Linked DNA regions of Homo sapiens: regions 1 and 3 are each linked to region 2. The links are contacts of gene promoters, found by promoter capture Hi-C in blood cells and fetal thymus (Javierre and others, 2016). All regions are on one chromosome and are shown on one strand. The core of a region is centred on a gene start or on the middle of the fragment in contact, and the rest is flanking DNA. Distances in the headings are between cores, read along the strand shown. Region 1 overlaps PLEKHS1 (pleckstrin homology domain containing S1). Region 2 holds the start of VWA2 (von Willebrand factor A domain containing 2). Region 3 has its middle 5.6 kb from the start of PLEKHS1.

Evidence for each region. The method cuts DNA at HindIII sites, captures the fragments that hold promoters and counts their contacts. A CHiCAGO score of 5 or more calls a contact.
Region 1: a fragment that was not itself captured here is called in contact with the fragment with the promoter of VWA2 in region 2 in 4 of 17 cell types (erythroblasts, naive B cells, total B cells and 1 more); the score reaches 6.3 in erythroblasts.
Region 3: a contact is called between a fragment that was not itself captured here and the fragment with the promoter of VWA2 in region 2, in 2 of 17 cell types (monocytes and neutrophils). The highest score is 5.6, in monocytes.

What each region holds. Positions count from the first base shown.
Region 1 is chr10:113,770,420-113,774,164 of GRCh38, reverse strand. It overlaps PLEKHS1 (pleckstrin homology domain containing S1), which reads right to left. Exons shown (of 13, transcript NM_001395068.1): 8 at 2,076-2,195. Among named protein-coding and RNA genes, the nearest start is that of MIR4483, 5.8 kb to the left of the region's middle. RefSeq lists an enhancer at 352-1,551. The HindIII fragment of the contact is 2,413 bases long and covers 1,018-3,430 here.
Region 2 is chr10:114,237,505-114,241,165 of GRCh38, reverse strand. VWA2 (von Willebrand factor A domain containing 2) reads right to left here and starts at 1,912. Exons shown (of 14, transcript NM_001272046.2): 1 at 1,597-1,912. RefSeq lists an enhancer at 1,293-2,001. The HindIII fragment of the contact is 4,541 bases long and covers 1-3,661 here.
Region 3 is chr10:113,744,334-113,747,890 of GRCh38, reverse strand. No RefSeq gene overlaps it. Among named protein-coding and RNA genes, the nearest start is that of PLEKHS1, 5.6 kb to the left of the region's middle. The HindIII fragment of the contact is 7,286 bases long and covers 1-3,557 here.

The sequences.
Region 1 (3,745 bases), core at 975-3,474, 470 kb after region 2:
TTCTAGTATTAACAGCTCTGGGCTCTGACATAGAGGTACAGTTTCCAGTGGATGAACGTGGTTCTCATTTGAGAAATATCAACCAACCTTACCTCCGCGAGACTGAACCAGCAAAGCTTCTGGAGGACTCAAAGTCAATTTTCTTCTCCTGGATCCCTCATGCTCCGGATACAAGTGTTATTTCTATTGAGCTAAATTGCTGTTTATCTTTCTGTTTCACCATTCGGCACTTAATGACATGAAAGCATTTCCCCAATCAGTTCTACTATAGAATCATGGCACTTGGCTGGGACAAAGACTCTGACACAATGTGAAGCTGGTCTCAGGTTACTATGCTCACAGGCAGCCCAAGTGGCTTCAGGGACATTGCAATGTTCTAGAAAAATACTGCCCTTAGGAAGCTCTCCATAGCCCCCTTAGAACAAAGAGAGTCACTTGTGGCAATGATTGCTCAAAAACCCTAAGGCCTACCTAAGTTCACCGTTAACCCATGATGGAAACCTTCCTTCCAGTCAAGCCAGTCTTCCCATTGGCCCCCTGCAAATGGTGCTGTTCCATCGCCATGTTCGTGCTCTCTTCTTCACCTCGAGTGCCATCTTTCCTTTCGGCCTACTGAAATCATGTTCAGGCCTGGCTGAAGTCCCACAGCCCACTCTGATCACCTCAGCTACGGCAGAGCTCTCCTTTCTCTCAATTTCCATTGCATAGTTTTTTTACTTATTTATTTATTTATTTATCTTTGGTCTTTTTAGCTGTTTTGTCTGCTTTACTAGACTTTACTTATCATAAAGTACCTAGCAAAGGCCAGGCCTATAACTGATGCTCAGTACACATCTGATTGGTTGGCTGAACTATCATAAAAGACTGCATCCCAGGAAACAGAAATATGAAAATATTTTGGTGAAAGAAGAACTCTGTGCTCAAAGGAGCTTGGGAAATGCCATGTGTTGTATCTGACTTGACTATTTACAATGCACCACTGCATACTAAATGCTCTGAGAATTCTGCTAAGAAGCTTGTTTAACTTATTTTAACTGGGTGTTTCCGGAACTTATTTGACCCCAGAATGTTTCTTTTATATAAACATACGTCACCATCTTACGGAAAACCCCCAGTTTGGGAAATGACGCAGCATTCCCACCCTCCATTCTGTCTTCCTATCTCTCACTTCCATTCTCTTCTCTCTATAGTCCATGGCAGATATAGCTGCTCAGTTAATACTAATGGAGGATAATTCAGGTTTTGAGATTTCCCAACTCAGAAGCCATCGCTTCCCCTATGCTGTCTACAGAATGAAGTCAACTTGGCATTCAAGACCCATCATGGGCTGGCCCTTTTCTTCTGTTTATCTCCCACTATGCCTTTCACGCACTCTAGGTTGCAGCCTCACTGAACTATTCCCCATACATGTATCAAATGGCACTTCATCCCAGAAGCCTTCCTTGACTCTGATAGAGAAAATCTGTTCTTTTTCTATTGCTTCCAGAGCACACGGACCACGTCTTTTGTGCAGCGTTATCCTGTGGTAACTGACAAGACTATGCACTCTGACAGCAGGGTGATGTCAGGCTCATTACTTTAGCCACCATGCCCAGTACAGTACAGTGACTAGTGCTCAGAAGGCATTCAGTAAGGGCTTCCTACTGATCAATAGACTGATCGATACACAGCACACAACTGATCACCCAAGGACCTTGGCTCATATTATTCTTTCTGCTAAGAATGCAGAAAGACTCCTCAAGGCAATCCCCCACATCCAAATTTTACTCATCATGTATGGCCTAATGTCATCTCGTCCCTGAAATCTTCCTGATCTTTTGTTTGAAAGTCATCTCCTCCTCCCATAGCTCATGCACCCCTGGTATTTTATAAGCATCTCTCTTCAGCATAGAACCCTCTGTCTTGTATTACAGCTGTCTCCTAGTCAAGTGTCAGCACCATGAGCACGTCATCTGTATTTGATTTACTTCTGTGTTCCCACTGACCATAGCCTAATATTGCACGAAAAGTGCATGGCAGGGTTTCAGTAAATATTTGTTAAAGAAACAAATGATGAATGGACAAGAAGGGGTTACCTCTAAAAGAACACTTCGAGGAGTAAGATAATGATTCTCTTCCTTCACATCTTGAGTGGCTTCTGATAAATCTTGTAGGTGAGTTTGCCTAAATCCTGGAGAACTTTGTTCCATTAAATGCTGAAGAAAAGAGATAAAAATGCTTTGCTTTTTCTTTGCAAGAGATAGAATTAAATCACATGCATTCTAGAAAAGCCGTAATAAATTAGTTGGGTTAAAAAAGACCAGAGGGTCTTCCAAGATTACATCCAGAAGCTCACACAACTTGAACTTGCCTCTTGAGTCTGGGTCACCACTGAGGATGAAAACATATAAGCACATCACTCAGGCTTTTTTTCTCTACCGTTTGGAACAGTCACTCAGAACAAGTGGTTTTCTCCTGTGGGTGGTATTCTTTTTTTTTTTTTTTTTTTTTGAGACAGAGTCTCACTCTGTCCCCCAGGCTGGAGTGCAGTGGCGCGATCTCGGCTCACAGCAACCTCCACCTCCTGGGTTCAAGTGATTCTCCTGCCTCAGCCTCCTGAGTAGCTGGGAATACAGGCGCGCATCACCATGCATAGCTAATTTTTGTATATTTTTTAGTAGAGATGGGGTTTCACCATATTGGCCAGGCTGGTCTCAAACTCCTGACCTCGTGATCCACCCGCCTCAGCCTCCCAAAGTGCTGAGATTACAAGCATGAGCCACCATGACCAGCCCTGTGGGTAGCATTCTAAGTCACTAAGCTCTGGAGTTGCTACCCTCATCTTTTTCCTGTAATCATCCAGTGCCATCTAAGAATGTAATTAACCCAGAATCAAGGCGTTGCACCTTTCCTGTTCCTGCTCCATATTTTTCTTTTGTGTTCTGTTCACACACTTCTATTGTTTCCACAGCAATGGAATTTGGTTGTGTTGATCATATGATAGTATGAATTATGGGTTTCCAGGTGATCTAGATTCAACCACTATTGCCTCCCCTTCCCCATAGATACAGAATATTCTACTAAAGTAGCTTCTTTGCATGGCAGAAAAATTCCAAGAACAATGCCTCAGAGCAGGGGGTTTGGAAAAGACCCTGAATGTTCTCTAGAAAAAAAGTCAAGTTTTAAAATACAGGTGTGTTTAAGTTCTGTCCATGTTTTAAGTTCCAAGCTCATGGAGCCGGATCATGCTGAGTTGGGGGTAAAGGCAGCCCACTTAATTTAACCAACAACAACACCACCCAGCAAGGCAAACAGTACTGTTAACTCGAGCTGGTTTAAAAATCACTGGATCTATAGTGTGAAAAGGCAAAGTGACCAATAATGTTATCTCTAGGGGGAGGGAGATATCATGAGTGAAAAGCAAGAGGCACTTACAGACAAGGGTGAAGCTTCCTAACTGCTGCATACCACCGTTTCTACTCGCTAAATGAAGAACTGAGGTGAGGTGTTTGGCATGGTGAATTTGATATGCTACAAAAAGCTTTCAAAATAGTTGGAGAGCTACCAACTAGATAAAACAAGGGACTAGGACTCATTAGATGTGCTTGGTATACATGGACAGGGTAAAGTCAATGGATAAGTCTCTAAGAGACAAAATAGTATCCGTGCCAGAGAACAAAACCACTCAGCATGTTTATGACTAATATCCCAAGTTGGGAACATTGCAAATCCAAGAAAGCTGAAGGTCCAATTACAAGTCGCTTTC
Region 2 (3,661 bases), core at 663-3,162:
TGACAATGGGGGAGTCTGTGCATAGGCGGGGACAGGAGGTATATGGGAAACCTGTACCTTCTGCTCAATTTTGCTTTGAACCTAACACTCTAAAACTGGGTCTCAGTTTCCTCATCTGTAAAAACATGGGCTTCTGACTATGATTCGGATATCCCAGGGGCTTGTGCCTATTGAAGAGAGGGGAAATACTGGCTGTAATCTCTGTACGGTAGACCAAAAACCAGATTTAATGAAAATACACTGATGGTTTTCAGCCAGAGATGATGAGGAAAGCAATCCTCTTCTCCAACCTGGGATTTGCCTGGGGACCTAGTCTGAGAAATTCTTACACTACTAGGAGATGGCTCTGGGCTGGATTTTACAAAAGAAGAGTAAGGCCTGAGGAGCTCTGAACCCCCATCAGTCACAAGAGAGGATGGCTTCAGCCTGCTGAAAGCCAGCAGCATTTACAAATTCATGCCTGTGGCTTTTGCCAACTCTAGTGGTACCTTTCTGACCTCTTCACTTCTCTGACTCTTCAATAAATCGACATTTCTTAATATAGTGTCACCTTAACAGCAAAAGAGACCTTGAATTTTTGGGACTGAATTTATAAAACACTTAGAGGTTCTGGGGTTTTACTTAAAGCAGCTTGTAATTTGAAAAATGTACACGTTCTAATTATTCCAATCTCCAAGACATCAAACACATGGCATGAGGTCCCCATTGCTAAGTCCCCTTTCAGCTTCAGCTGGAGCCCTTGATTCCACAATCACAAGCAGCAAGGTGCCCTCCTCCCTTCTCTTCTGTCTGGTGCCCCCAGCAAGTTTTCAAGGTTCAATTCTGAGACTCTCCCATTCACCGTCCCAGCAGGTGGCCAAGGGCCCAAGGCGGGAGGGAAAGGTCGGCTTAGCTAGGGAAAGTTTTGTTAGCCTTATTGGAAGGGAAGGAGACATGCAGGAAGCAGGGCTGAGCCAGGTGGGGGAAGTCACCAGAACGACAAACCCCTGGACTTCCCACTGCCCAAGCGCGAGGACTCTCGGGGCAGCCGGCCCCTCTCAGGTTCTGCTTGCAGACACTTCGCTGGGGGCACTCGTTCTGCCTGGGAAAACTGCCCCAAGTCCCCTTAACACCTGTGTATGTCCTGTAGTGGGGTGTGGGGTGGAAGCGAGCATGTCACCAAAGCCTTTATTCAAAGGGCGAGTCCCTTTCCGCGGCCGCCAGGGAAGGGGGCCCCGCTACTGTGCCAGGAGGGCAGCTTGGGTTTAATACATGCCCTCCTCCACCCCTGTACCCGGAGCCCCTACCCACTTACCTGCTGACCGCACCCCTCCCAAAACCCCGCCAGCTCGCCCGGGACGGACCGCGAGTGGCCACGAGGGAGGCGCGCGCCAGGTGCGCTCTTCCCCCGACGCCGCCGTGCCAGGAAGGCCGCGCTCAGGTGCGCGCAGACAATGCGAACAAAGCCCGCACCCTCGGCGGGGCCGCGCAGCCCGGGTGCTCTGGGTAGGGGTGGCTGGGCAGAGGGGGCCCCAGTACCGGGAGCGTGAATCGGTCATCGGCAGCCGGCACTGGCGGGTACCCGGGCGCCAGAGCCAACTCGGGGCTGGGACTCACCGGAAGGAGAGCGGCGACCAGCGCTCGGTGCCCGGGCGGCTCTACTCACAGACCCGGGCGCGGCTCGGGCCAGGGGGCGCTACGGGATCACAGGAGGGGCGCCCGGGGCGCGGCTGCCACGTGGGACACCTGTTTGTCTCTCCTGGGAGAGGGCGGCACGACCCGACCCGGCTGAGGTCGGAGGAACTACCGCCAGGGAGGTGCATAGAGCCCCTCGCGTTTTTTAAAGCGGCATCGGCCCAGGTCTGCAAATAAAAAAGTACTTCACTTCTACGCGGGTCACCCAGCCTCCGAGCGGTGCAGCCGCGAACACTGTGCCGTCAGCTGACTCCTCCACGGGCTTTATAGCTCCTTGAAAAAATGTTGACTTTGGCATCTTTTCTATTTGTCATGGCAATTGCCTTTTAATTACCTGTCCCTCCTATTGTTGCAGTTGGGTAATAAGCCGACCTTTTGGCCATCATCCTTGCTTAAGATTGGAGGGCGTTTGATTTTTAAAAAATCAAATGCCACAAAGCACAATGCTGAGCATGATGCTTTATATAAAGTAAGCTCTCAATGAACGTTGACTATGACTGCACAATCCATAATTTCCATACTTCATTTAAAAACTGCCAGAGCATGCCTGTTCATTGCAAAAAAAAAAAAAAGAAAAGAAATAACAGTAAAAAAGTTGATAAATCAATCATTTTCCAACACCCAGAGATAATCAGTTAACATTGTGGTGTATGTTCTTCCAATGTCATTCTACCTATGCAAAAATTTATATATTTTTAGTTCATTCCATACAAGCTGTACATTACTCAGGTTTTCCATTTCCTTTTTTTGAATGTCCGTTTTAAGCCACTTCATAATGTCCTAATGTACTTAACCTATCTGCTATTGTTGAATATTAAACTTTCCATTTTAATAATACAATTAGATGTCTTTGTGCTTTTGTCCAATTAATTCCTTAGAATAAACTACGAAAAGGTAAATTTCTAGGATACAGGTTTTATACAACTTAAGACTTTTGATGCCTATTATCTAATTGTCCTCAAGGAAGGTTGACCTGCTTCCTCTTTTCCATGCTCCTTCCCATTATTCTTGTAAATGTCAATCTGATAGGAAAATAATTTGCTTTACACCTTTCCTGTCTGTAGTTCTCAGTTAATTTCCAAACCTCCGACACTGACAGCTTCCAGTGAAAGTGGCCCGTGGTGACTTTAATGTTGCAAACCTCATTGAAGGAGGCTAGGAAAGGACTCATTTTTCCTGTAATTCATTTCTCCCAGTAACATTTACTGAGCACCCAAAAATAAAAACAGGGCCACACCAGAGCAGCAGACATAATGTACCACCACATCATCCCCACAGGGGACAGCAGTTAGTCTTGAGGTCTAACTGCTGGGGAGGGATGGTCTCTGCCTCTAGATCAGCATTGCCCCAGAGAAATACTGACCAAGCCACGTGTGTAATTTTAAATGTTCTAGTGGTCACATTTAATAAAAAGTGAAAAGAAACAGCAAGCTGGATTTCAGTATTAACCTAAACATCCGGAACATTATCTCAACATGTAATCAATAAAGATGTTTTATGCTGTCTTCAAAGTCCTGTTTTTTTGTTTTTTTTTTTTTTTTTTTTGTTTGAGACAGAGTCTCACTCTGTTGCCCAGGCTGGAGTGCAATGGCATGATCTTGGCTCACTGCAACCTCTGCCTCCCAGGTTCAAATGGTTCTCCTGCCTCAGCCTCCCGAGTAGCTGGGATCACAGGTGCACACCACCATGCCCGGCTAATTTTTGTATTTTTAGTAAAGACAGGGTTTTGCCATGTTGGCCAGGCTGGTCTCAAACTCCTGACCTCAGGTAATCCACCCGCCTCAGCCTCCCAAAATGCTGGGATCATAGGCGTGAGCCACCACGCCTGGCCAATCCTGTTGTATTCTATACTCACAAGCACATCTCAATTTGGACTCGCCACATTTTTAAGTGCTGTATAGTCAAATGGGGTGAGTGGCCTGTGCTGCTCCAGAGATGTCCAACAAGGGCAGACCCCAGGTCCTCAAGAAAGTGGAAATTCTACCTT
Region 3 (3,557 bases), core at 212-2,711, 490 kb after region 2:
CTCCATCGTCCCCTGCCTCCCCTCAAGATTGTTTCCAAGAACTCTTACTCCTGGTCTCTGCACGCTAAGCACCTTGGCCTTTGTACATGCTGCTCCCTCTCTCTGGCCCACTCTTCTCCTGTTTCTTCCACTGGCTAACTACTACACATCCTTCAGCTCTCACTCCAACATCACTTCTCAGTGATTCCTTCTCTCCCCAGACAAGGCCAGATTCTTTATGACACATTATCATGGTGCAATGTTAACCTCAGTACACATTTTGCCATTTGTAATTTTAGATGCATTTGTCTGATTATTTGGTTAATGTCTGTCTCTTCCTCCACAAGACTGTATAATCCATTAGTACTGTGTCTGTTTCTTCTGACCAGTGTATCCCCAGTAGCTAGCTTAAATGCCTATCCATTCTTTATTTATTTACAGTGTGCCTACTATATGCCAGATGTTATAGATAATAGAAAAATGGAAAGATTAGTGTTTTTTGAGAGCTCATAATTTGACCAGGGAGATCCAGAGAAAACTAACTTTAATACTCCATTGGTAATCCCTCCTACTTCACTGTTGTACCTCACTTTTTAAATTTAATTTCATTTTTTTATACTTTAAGTTCTAGGGTACATGTGCACAATGTGCAGTTTTGTTACATATGTATGCATGTGCCATGTTGGTGTGCTGCACCTGTTAACTCATCATTTACATTAGGTATTTCTCCTAATGCTATCCCTCCCCCCTCCCCCCACCCCACGACAGGCCCTGGTGTGTGATGTTCCCCACCCTGTGTCCAAGTGTTCTCATTGTTCAATTCTTATGATTACACTCTGGACCTTGGAACTACCCATTCTTGCATGAACTTCGATAACTTTGACTGGGGTGCTCCACTTTCCAACTGCAATCTCCCTTCCTTCTATGCTTTACATTTCTTCACTTCAGCCTCTCCAAGACCTCAAGATTCTGGACCCTTCCTCGTTCTTTCAGTATGTCTGCTGAGATCAGTGTCCATTAGCAGCTGAAACTGCCACTCTCTCAACTGCCTGCAAAAGGAAATAAGCTGGGTTGAACTTTGCACAAGAATAACTACTGATGGGATCAGGGTGAGCACCTTACCCTAGGACTGCCCCTCTATTGGCTGGCTTTTGACCCAGGGAGAGGCCTGACACAAAGAACTTTGCTCAGAAGAGGCAATGGCAGCGAGCCAACCCTTGCTGAAATTTTCTCTTCTCTTTGCTTCCAAGTTACTCTCTCACTTGGTTCTCACTATACTGATCTATTTCTTTGTTTTGTTTGCTGGGTTTTCTACCAGCATGCAATCTTTACTTTTTGGAGTCCCCAGAGTTCCTTCCTTAGATACTGTATTTCCTTACTTTGCAAGTATTTCTCAATGCTGGAAATAGTGTGGGTCCATTGAGGTTGGTGACCGTAAATTTGGCAAGAGTCCTGATGTGTGATTTCCTCCAGTGGCCTTCAGCTGTTCAGGAGCAGGCATGGGGGAGCCAGGGCCTGGGGTTCATTTCAGCTTAGCATTTTTGCTAGGAAAATGCCACAGAAGGAAGGCAGCAAGGGAGTTTAGCATACTTGCTGAAGAATGCTCAAAATGTTGACTCATGGAATCAGAGGGTCATAAGGAGGAAATAACTAAGGAGATAAAGAGATAAAGGAGATAGGAGGAGATTCTTGGGGACGGGCATCCTGGGTAGTGATTCCTGGTGAGATGTGCCGTCAAAGACAGATGGTACAAGCTGACTGAAGGATAGGAAGTAGTGCTTGGAGAGAATATGCTTGATCGATCTTAAAATAGAGAAATTGCAAGGCGCAGGTAGCTTAGCTATGTAGCGTAGAAGGTCATTGGTGACGAGGAGGTCAAGGAACTGAGGGGCTAAAGTGTTTGGCCATCCACATGGTTGTCCAGTTGATGGAGCAAAGTCCTTTTAAAGTTCTCTAAACATTTTAAAAACATGAGAAACGGAATAAAGGTAATTAACTCTACCTGCTTCCCCCAATACACACACATACCAGTGTCTATTTTTGTATTTAGATTCATTTGTTAGAGCAAAAGCAGATGTAGATGCCAAAAGAGGACTTCGAGATCCACAGAAGATTGAAGTCAGAATCTTCCTTATTTAAAGAGAACACCTGGGTCCAGTTTCTGGGGATTAGGGAATGTATACAGGTGATAGAGGATGGCCCAAAGATTTCGGACTGGGAGTCAGCCAATGAGACCACCACTGGGGCAGAGGGAGGGATGATGAGTTCTTCCTCTTTTTTCTTTCCTTTCTTTCCCATTATGGCCCTGAATCTTAGTAGGTCCAACTTGCTTGGCACTGGGCCAAAAGGGTCAGTGTTGGTAAGGAAGGGGTGGCAGTGCAGTCGAAGAAAAAGTGGAGTAGGAAGGAAACCCCCAAATTGATGGTCCTGTGCAGTGGCCTCTTTCCCACCAGCCCATCACATCTGTAGGGTGTGGTGTAACCCTGGAACCCTATGTTTCCTAGAACTCCTGTTGGTCAGTGATAGAGCTTCCCTGCTGCTCTGGATCTAGGAGCAGCCCAATTTTTTTTTTTTTTTTTTGGCACTTCAACTGCTATCATAACAGAAGCAACCCTATTTCATTTCTGGGACCTGGAGAAGAAAGAACATATTCCATATGGATTCTGTATGAATCATGAATTTGAAGAATCAGGTAAAGCCCATGAAATCAGACCACACATCCCACTTAGCATCGTGTTTTATTCTTCTAAAGTTTTTTATTCTTCTGAACTCAACTTCTAAACGTTTATTGTTCCAAGAGATGTATATATTTTTAAAACGTTTTCATTCCTTTCACCTTCTATTTAAGTTGAAGGCAGTTAATAAGAAAGAATATTTCCTTTCAGCATTTATTGGTACCACTTGCATAACAGGCACAGTTGGGAATTTTGAAAAAAGAATTAAACATAGACTTTGCTCTTAGGGACCTTATAAACTAATATGGCAGATAAATCTGTACAGAAATAATGTGTCAGTCAGGGTCCCAGCAGGAAACAGCATGCTCAAAGGATTTATTGAAGAGAGTTATTGCAGGGTCTGTCTGCAGAGGTGGAGGCAGGGTTAAAGGAGCAGCAAGAAATGGTGGTGGGATGGTGGTGTAGCAAGAGTGGGAAGACTTCACCTCCTCTAGGCTTGCAGGGATGAAAGGAGGGAGAAGTATTACCCAATTTTGATGAAAGCTGAAGTCATGAGATAAACCTACACTATAGGGGTAGTGGCCGTAGTCAAGATATATGGTTACTTGTCCAGACCATGGCACAGCATGGAGGGAGCAGGGGGGCTGGGGTGGGGTAGGATGGGAAGAAGCCAGCAGAGGAGATTAACAAGAAGCATTCAGAGGAGCATGTGAAAAACCAGGAGTGTGTGGCGTCTAGCAGTAGAGACAAGGTTTGGGTGGGTGGGGGGCAGCCACCTCACATGCTGCCAAGAGGAAGGGTGAGATGGATTTGGTAGGGTAAGGACAATTGCGGCTTTGGCGAGAACCATTTGGTGAGTGGTGTGGAGCAAAAGTCTGATTGGAGCAGGTTAACTAGAGAAAT